2 separate regions of the Homo sapiens genome follow, and region 2 is linked to region 1. The links are contacts of gene promoters, found by promoter capture Hi-C in blood cells and fetal thymus (Javierre and others, 2016). All regions are on one chromosome and are shown on one strand. Each heading gives the region's core, a stretch centred on a gene start or on the middle of the fragment in contact. The rest is flanking DNA. Distances are from core to core; before and after follow the strand shown. Region 1 holds the start of METRNL (meteorin like, glial cell differentiation regulator). Region 2 overlaps TBCD (tubulin folding cofactor D).

Region 1 (4,435 bases), core at 3-2,502:
GGCCGCGCCGAGGGGAAGCGGGACCCAGGCCCGGGCCAGCCCGGCCACGGCTCTCCGGGAGGCGCGCGTCACTCGGGTCCCCGCGCATCTGCGAACCCCGGAACTGGCGACTGCGAGGCTCGCGCAGGGCGGGTTCGGCCGCGGTGCCCTCGGCGCCCTGGGCTTCGCGTGGGAGCGGCGGCGGCTCCCGAGGGGCAGTCGCGGTCGGCGCCGCTCTCGGCGGCCACGCTTGAGTCAAAAAAAAAAAAAAAAAAAAAAAGTCCTCGGCCGCCACCGCGGGTGGGGGGGGGGGGGGTCGCCCAGCGCAGCGCGCGCCGCGGCCAAGGGCGGCCTGACCTTCACGGGGCAGGGGCGGGGGGCCCGGCCGGAGCCACACTCGGCCCGGCTCACAGGTGCCCGCCCGCGGCTCCCCGAGACGGAAGTGGCCCCCGCTGCGGTCCGCGCCCGATCCCCGAAACCGCCGCTCCCTCCCGCGGCCGTCCCTTCCCGCTCTGGCCCGGGGCGGCCTCGGGGCGCGCAACTCCCGGAGCCTGCCAGGAAGGGCCCGAGGACCGACCCCCGCCTGCCCCCGGGATGGGGTCGCGGGACCGGCGGCCCCCGAGGCTCGGACACGCGCGGAGCCGGGACCCACCCGGCCGCGCTGCAGGCGCGCCTCCCCCGGGCGTCCTCCGGGCCGGGAACCGGGACGCCGCGGGCTCTTTTGTTCTAGAACCGGGGGCGGGGGACAGCGGGCACCGGACTGGGCCTGGAGAGCGGCCCCCGGAGCCCCTGCCCCGCGCCCGCCCCCGGCCGCGCCCCCGCACGCTCGGCCGGCCCGGGACGGGAGGGGACGCGAGGGGAGGGGGCCGGGCCGGGGTCGCGCCGCGCACACTCACCTCCCCTTCCAGCTGCACCGGTCGCTGGAGTACTGCGCGCCCGCGCCGCCCAGCAGCCCGGCCAGGAGCAGGAGCAGCAGCGGGAGCGGCGGCGGGGGCGGGCCCGGGGCGGGGGGTCGCGGCCACGGCTGCCCCGCGCGCCCCCAGGCCGCCCGCGCCGCGCCCCGCATGCTCTGGCGCCGGCTCCGCCGCCCGGCCCCGCGTCCGCGACCCCCGGAGCAGACCCCGGAGCCGGCGAGCCGGGCGGGGGCGGGGCGGGCTTCGAGTCCGGGTGGTCACGTCGCGCGCCCCCCGCGTCCTCCGCGCGGCCGCCCGCCCATCCCGGCCCGCTGGAGCCGCGCGCAGAGCTCCGCGCCCGCCGCCGCCGCCGAGCCTCTGAAGTTGGCGAGTCCGAGTCCGCCCGGCCGGGCTCAGCTGGGGGGTGGGGCCCACCCGCCGCCCCGCCCCGCCCCCGACCCCGCCCCCGACCCCGCCCCGCGCCGGAAACTCCTCCCGGGGCGCCCGGCCGGACGCGCAGACACCGAGTCAGCAGCGAATCGGGGGCGCGGGCGCCGGGGCGGGGGGCGCTGCAGGAGGAGGGGGCCGCGCCGGGCGGCGAGCGGGGTCCGGAGGGAAGAGCCCGGCCTGGAAAGCGGAGTCCGGGGCCGGAGGGGTTGCAAGGCGAGGGCGGGGCGGAAACCCGAGACCCCCAAGTAGTGGCCGACGCGAGCCGCGGTCGCCCCCCGCAGACCCCCGCGAGGCGGTGCCGGGGCCGCATCCTGCGCCCCATCCTGCGCCCCATCCTGCGGGCAGCCCCGGCGCGGAGCGGTAAAGGAGGCTCCCGGCCCCGCCGGTTCTGGGTCCCCCGCGCCTCGCCAGCGGGCGGTGATCAGGGGCGATCCGGGCGCCCCGCGTTCCGCAGAGTTGGTGCCTCGGGAGTTCCCGGCTCCCTCCTGACCGGGGGGGAGGCCCGGCGGTGAGCCCGGCTTCCCTCCCTCCTCCCGGAGGACGTGCAGCCGCCGCGCCGGGGCCTCTGCCGAGCGCTGCCCACTCCTCGCTCCGGATACGCGGGGCCGGGTGGTTCTTGGGGTGGGGACGTCCTGCGCATGGTGGGATGTTGGCAGCACCCTGGCCCCCGCACTCTGGGTATCAGTAGCAACCCCCGCCCCAGCTTTGACAACCTAAACTCTCTGCAGATTTGGCCAAATCCCGCCCCCACCCCGTGCCCGCGGGGCAGAATCACCTGCGGAGCGTCCTGCTCGAGTGTGTTCCTCGGAGTCGGCGCCTTCCCCAGGTGGTCACCGCGGCCACCACGTGCCTGACCCAGTGGGGGGGACAGCGGAGACCCCCGCCCGGACTGGGGAGGCCCTAGAGACTCAGGCCAGAGAAGGGGAGCCAGAGGGTGCCGAGGGCCCCCCAGGCAGGAGAGGGCGGAGCTGGCCCGCCCGGCGGTCCCCGCTGCGATGGCAAAGCTGGCTTCTGTGTGCTGCGGGTCAGTGGCCCTGCCCGAGACGCCTGGTGTCAGTTCCAGAGCCGAGCGCAGCATCCAGCGGTGGGGAAGCTTGGCCTTGTCCCCTTTTCCAGCCAAGATACCTTCCAGGAGGACTTGCGAACGACCTGTGCAAGTCTGAATAACTGGGTTGTGACTACCAGAGGAGGCGGGGAGAGGGCTTTGAAAATTGTGAGTCTGCAGGGACGGAAGTCACCGGCAAAGGCAGGTGGAGCCCAGCCCCCAGCCCAGGAAAGCTGGGACAAGGGTGAGGGTCTGAAGAACTGGAAGGCGATGACAGTGACCACTGAAGGTAGTTTCATTGTAAGGATCTGTTCAGAGCACCCACCCCATCGAAAGCCTGGAGCCAGGACCTTGCCCAGCACATCAAGTGACATCACCCTGAGGCTCAAGGTCTGGTGGAGGTGCATTTCGGAGCTTGGAGACTGCCCCACCCACCCCCGTCTGCTCTAGGAGTGCACCTCCCCCCACCCCCATCACTGCAGGTACCAGGGTGCCCAGTGGAAAGGGACCTGCTGTGGAAAGGGACCTGCTGTGGAAAGGGACCTGCGGCTTCACACCTGTGCGCAGCAACTGCTTTCCATGCCCACCAAGCATAAGATAGCAGCCCCCCCAGGCCCGGTCCACCCTTGAAGGGCCACATGGCCTATCAGGGTCCAGATCATCACACCACGGAAGAGGCAGGGCAGTGCTGGGATCTCTTGAGTTATAGATGCGGACATGGGGAACTCAGGACCTGCCGTGACCTGCTCAGGGTCTCAGAGCCCCTGGTGGCTGCTAGACCGAAGGGGAGAGGCCGCCTCTGGTCAGCAGGCAGCTGGTTCCAGCCTAGGCTGGGGCAGAGATCTGCCACCTGGCAGGATGCCCAGCCTCCTGTGCCCAGCGGGCTGTCCTAAGACTGGGATCGTACGATGGTGAGTATGGGACCCACGTGTACTTTTCAAAACCCGTAGAAAATACAGCACAAGAGTGAATCCTGATGGAGGCTTGAGACATTTGTAATAATAACGGATCAATATTGGTTCTTTGACTGTCACACGCCTACACCCTAATGAGAGAAGGTAATCATAAGAGAAACTGGGTCAGGGAGAGGGTGTGTGGGGGACCTCTACCATCTGCTTGGTGTTTCTGTAAACCTAAAACATTAAGTCTGCTAATTAAAACAAAACAAAACTAGAGTAAGAATGCTTGCTGGCCAGTATTCTCGGAAGAAGCTAATCTGTCTTGGGAAAGGAGCCTGGCCCTTTCCACCCTGGGGCTGTGGTTCCCCAAGCTGTTCCCTTGAGGAGGTTCATGCCCCAGAGACATTGGGTGCTCCTGGGCACCTCTGCTGACCCCTGTCCTGGCCCAGCGAGGCCACCTACAGGTGAGACGTCCCCTGTAGACGGGGTTCCTGGTGTCAGGAGGTATCAGGCTCCTAGAGGATGCAGGCTGAGGTGGTCAAGGCTGTCTGGGGGTGTTCCCAGCCACTGGTACACTGCCCCTTGTACCACCAGACCCCGAGAGGCCGATTATGAACCAAAAGGATCCCAGCTGGTCATGGTGTGTGGCCCTCCCCCTGGTCCTCTGGGAGGGTCTGCAAGGAAAGGGCCTTGGGTGTGTTTGTCCCTGGATGTCTGGGAAGGGACTGCTTCCCAGTGAGCATGTCACGGGGTTAGACCCAGGAAGGGGCCACAGCATCATCCCACCCACCCACTCGTGGGAAGGAGCTGGTCTTCGCAGCTTTGCGTGAAGCTCTGATACTTCCTACCTGAGTCGGAACGTTGAGGCTGAGCCGTGGAATCGGAGAGCTCCAGAACCCACCAGGATCACGCCTGCCCATTCCCTCTACCGGCGGGCCCTGCAGTGATGCTTCTGCATCCTGGGAGATGGCAGCTAAGGGACCTGGGCCAGGGGGGCCTGTGGCCCAACCGTAGGTCTACATCAACCCTCTCTCTTTCCTCATCTATCCATTCCCTCGAGAAACAGCTCTCAGAAGCCTCCTGGGCAGACGTCCGTGAAAAAAATTCTGGGTGCACCCTGGACAGTCCTTCTGTGCCTCACCAGGGTCTGAGGCCTCAGAAAGCAGGAC
Region 2 (4,435 bases), core at 925-3,424, 260 kb after region 1:
AGAAAAACATGACAGTTTCTTTTGGAAGCCAGAAAACACAGTCCACAGGTGGGAATTAATCTACTGAATGGTGCTTTTAACAAGACCCCAAGGCAGCTGCAGCAACATCGTCGTAAGACGCTGCTTGTACGTCTTCGATGAACACTGAGAGCGTGTGCTCCAATGCAACTCTGTACATTTTTCAAAATTTATAACATTTATATAAACTTATAAAAATTTAATGTTTATTAAAATTTTTTCGAAATTTATAAAATGTATTATACATTTAAAAATTTTCTCAAAACATCACCTTAGATAAGAGTTAGGCAGTCTGTATTTCCGACATGCAGGGCTTACTACCTGATGCAGGTTCACAGGGACCTTGAGCCTCCTAGCAGTAAAACAAACATGCTCTCCAACCTTCAGAAAGTTGCAGGAAGGTTAGAATGGGCTTCTCTGTGGCTTTGGGACACCAGACCATTACACTTTATAAGACATGGGGTGACAGACTGCACCTTCTGGGGGAAGGGGTAGGCCTCCTTGAGAGGGGGCAGTGAAGGACCCCAGCCTGAAGATTGCATAGGGAGCTTCCTAAGTTTGAGGGAAGGCAGGAGAAAAGCTTTGTAGATGCTAATTTAACAGAGACCTGCTTTAGCCACACAGTGGGTATAAACAGACCTATGTCACCAACACAGCCCTCAAATCTGTTATTTGGGAAACACATATGCAAAGATTTCTTCCTTTTTAGGCTTTAAAGCAAAGGTTAAGTGCTGGGAAGCAAGTGTGAGCCACTGTGCTCAGTCTTAGACAAAAATATGCTCACAGATCTCAAGAAAACTGTGGACAAAGAACTAAAGGAGACCAAAAGAACAACATTTAAACTAACATGGAATGTTGATAAAGAGACAGAAATTATAAAAACAGGCTGGGCACAGCAGCTCACTCCTATAATCCCAAGGCAGGCCAAGGCAGGAAGATCACTTGAGTCCAAGAATTTGAAAGCAGTCTGGACAATAAAGTGAGATCCTGTTTCTACAATTTTTTTTTCCAGTGCAGCAGGCCTGTGGTCTCAGCTACTCAGGAGGCTGAGGCGGGAGAGCTGCTTGGGCCTGGGAGGTTGAGGCTGCAGTAAGCCGTGATACCACCACTGCACTCCAGCCTGGGCGACAGAGCAAGACCCTGTCTCAAAAAGAAATTATTAAAAGAGAAACTAAAGAGAAATTCTGGAACTGAGGACTCAACAGCTGAAATGAGTGCAGAACCTAAGAGACTCATAGGGCACCATCAAGCTTACCAACATGTATATTAACACAACAAGAGGACTCAACAGCTGAAATGAGCACAGAACCTAAGAGACTCATAGGGCACCATCAAGCTTACCAACATGTGTATTAACATAACAAGAGGACTCAAGAGCTGAAATGAGGGCAGAACCTAAGAAACTCATAGGGCACCATCAAGCGTACCAACATGTGTATTAACATAACAAGAAGACTCAAGAGCTGAAATGAGTGCAAAACCTAAGAGACTCATAGGGTACCACCAAGAGTACCAACATGTGTATTAACATAACAAGAGTCCCACAAGGAGAGGAGAGGGGCAGCAAAAATACCTGAAGAAACAATGACTGAAAACTACCCGAGTTTGATGAAAGACATGAATCTACACATCCAAGCTCAGAAAAACACCAAGTGCTAGTTATTATTACCCAAATCAATATGCACAATTCTCAATCAATAAGGATAGCAAGGGAAATAGGGTTCATACAAAATGTCCAAAGAGATCAGAACACTTGACATTTTTCAAAAAGCAAAATACTGATGAAAACCACAAAATGCATAATAAGGAGCACATGTATACATTTTATCAAAATAGTACAGTTGGCTGGGCGCAGTGCCTCACGCCTGTAATCCCAGCACTTTGGGAAGCCAAGGCAGGCAGATCACTTGAGGTCAGGAGTTCGAGACCAGCCTGGCCAACATGGAGAAATCTGGTCTCTACTAAAAATAAAAAAATTGGCTGGGCATGGTGGCGGGCGCCTGACTCCCAGCTACTCGGGAGGCTGAGTCATGAGAATCACTTGAACCTGGGAGATGGAGCTGGCAGTGAGCCAAGAGGGCGCCACTGCACTCCAGCCTGGGCAACAGAGCAAGACTCTGTCTCAAAAAAAGAAAAAAAAAAAAAAGGTAAACTTAAACCAATACATCCCCCCACCTGTGCTTCTTGTATCCAACAAAGGAAACCGTAAGGGTTCACAAACATTGTAGGAGCTTACTCATGGTGAGGAGTGCCCACCTCCTCCTGCCACAACAACAGAGGTGTTCAAAGAGGAGCCACAAAAAAGGTGAAAGGACCTACGCCAGGACCACTCAAGAAAAGTCCTGGAATTTGAATCACCTAAAATAAAGACCAAGTAGCCCTTTAACAGTAGTCCTCAAACAGAGGTGATGATGCAAAGAGAAAAAGAACATGGCCCACTGTCCACAGGCCGAGGCAGGAGGATCGCGTGAGTGCAGCACTGCGATCATGGCTCACTGCAGCCTCAACCTCCTGGACTCAAGCAATTCTCCCACCTCAACCTCCTGAGTAGCTGGGACTGCACCCAACTACCTTTTTAAAACAATTTTTGTAGAAACAGGATCTCATTTTGTTGCGCAGGCTACTTTCGAATTTCTTTAAAAAATTAGCTGGGCGTGGTGGTGTGCACAGAGTCAGAGACCAAGAAATAGGCTTACAGCACAACAGATGGAGATTCTGTGTGTGTGTGCACTGTATGTGTGGAGAGGAATCAGCAGGATTCCCTAAAAAGTAACCCAAAGAAAATGCGATGCTTTTTTCCTGAGTCCAGCAGGCAGAGTCCCCCTATTCAGAGGACTAAGGGCAGAAAGACCCAGGGTGCCTTCCAGGCAAACATCGCATCACTGCCTGCCCACCTGACTTCCCTAGTTTTACTTCTTCCTCCTTTAGCATGCACCAATGAAGCTCCACATTTCCTCTAAGACAAACAAAAGCTTTAGTCATCAAACATGCTCATCTATATTGTGTCTTTCTACGACATTTATTTGCCAAGCATTTGTTTTCGCGCTTTTTTTTCTTTTTTTTGAGACAGGATCTTGCTCTGTCACCCAGGCTGGAGTGCAGTGGTGCGATCTCGGTTCACTGCAACCTCTGCCTCCTGGGTTCACGCGATTCTTCTGCCTCAGCCTCCCGAGTAGCTGGGATTACAGACATGCACCACCACATCCTTGTATTTTTAGCAGAGACGGGGTTTCACCATGTTGGCCAGGCTGGTCTCGAACTCCTGGCCTCAGGTGATCCCCCCGCCTTGGCCTCCCAAAGTGCTGGGATTATAGGCATGAGCCGCCGTGCCCAGCCTGTTTTCACTTTTCAAACCAAACTGACAGAGAACCACAGTAACTCTCCAAGGAGACAAGGAGGTGCAGGGACAGCTCAGCCGTGTGACATGGAGGAGGCCGAAGGGCTGAGCATGAGCTGTGACACCAGAAAGACTTCCTGGCTCCCACAGCTGCAGTGTTTGTGTGTGTGTGTTTGTTTGTTCAGAGAGGGTGTCTCACTATGATGTCCAGGCTGGTATCAAATTCCTAGGCTCAAGTGATCCTCCTGCCTTGGCCTCCCAAGAGGCTAGGATTAAAGGCACCGCCACCACACGTGGCTCCCAACTATAGCTTTATATAAACAAGACGGCTCTCAGAGGAATGGTGTGAGGTCTAAAACAAAAACATAAAAAGCATGCTGCAAATGCTCATCAAATGTCAGCCCTGTCACCTCCTGAGTCAGCCCCAAGATGGGATCTCTTTCACCCCTGCCTGAAAGAACCCTTGCCCTGTGCAGAGACAGCACAGCTTCTCCATGTCCCACCAGGAACAGAATGGGGGCTGCAAAGAGGGTTCAGCTCACATGGAGGGCACCGCCAGGCAGAAGGGGCCAACCAACCATGCGAAGGTCATGGGCCAGTGTATTCCACATCACGTGTCAGTTTCTGAACCATAGCTTTACCCTTTTCGTTTATGATGCCAACACCCATATCCTCTCGCCCCAGCTGCCTGGGGTCAGTGCATGTTGCCATAAGACATGACAGAGCACACACACAAGCCAGTAGAGTCTCTTGTCTCCTTTGAGTGAACCTGGAGCTGGCTCCCCACAGGCAGGGACTTCATTCCATCCCAGCTACACATTCACACACACACCCTCACACACATCTAGTGTCACAAATAAACATTACGAGTCACTTACTTCGGATGGAACAAAACGTTAAATGAAACCACAACTTCATGGTTCTGGGGTCAGCAATGATTTCTTAGCTATGACACCAGAAACACAAGAAAGAAAAAGACTGATGAGCTGGACTTAATTAAAATTTAAAACCTGGGTCAAATATCACCATCAAAGAAATTGAAAACACACCAGGTACAGCCTACAATCCCAGCACTTTGGG

Evidence for each region. The method cuts DNA at HindIII sites, captures the fragments that hold promoters and counts their contacts. A CHiCAGO score of 5 or more calls a contact.
Region 2: a fragment that was not itself captured here is called in contact with the fragment with the promoter of METRNL in region 1 in 1 of 17 cell types (total B cells); the score reaches 6.5 in total B cells.

Annotation. Positions count from the first base shown.
Region 1 is chr17:83,076,426-83,080,860 of GRCh38, reverse strand. It overlaps METRNL (meteorin like, glial cell differentiation regulator), which reads right to left and starts at 1,252. Exons shown (of 4, transcript NM_001004431.3): 1 at 876-1,252. The coding sequence starts at 1,045. The HindIII fragment of the contact is 18,805 bases long and covers 1-2,417 here.
Region 2 is chr17:82,817,704-82,822,138 of GRCh38, reverse strand. The region is part of intron 13 of TBCD (tubulin folding cofactor D); the gene reads right to left. Among named protein-coding and RNA genes, the nearest start is that of ZNF750, 20 kb to the left of the region's middle. The HindIII fragment of the contact is 1,636 bases long and covers 1,357-2,992 here.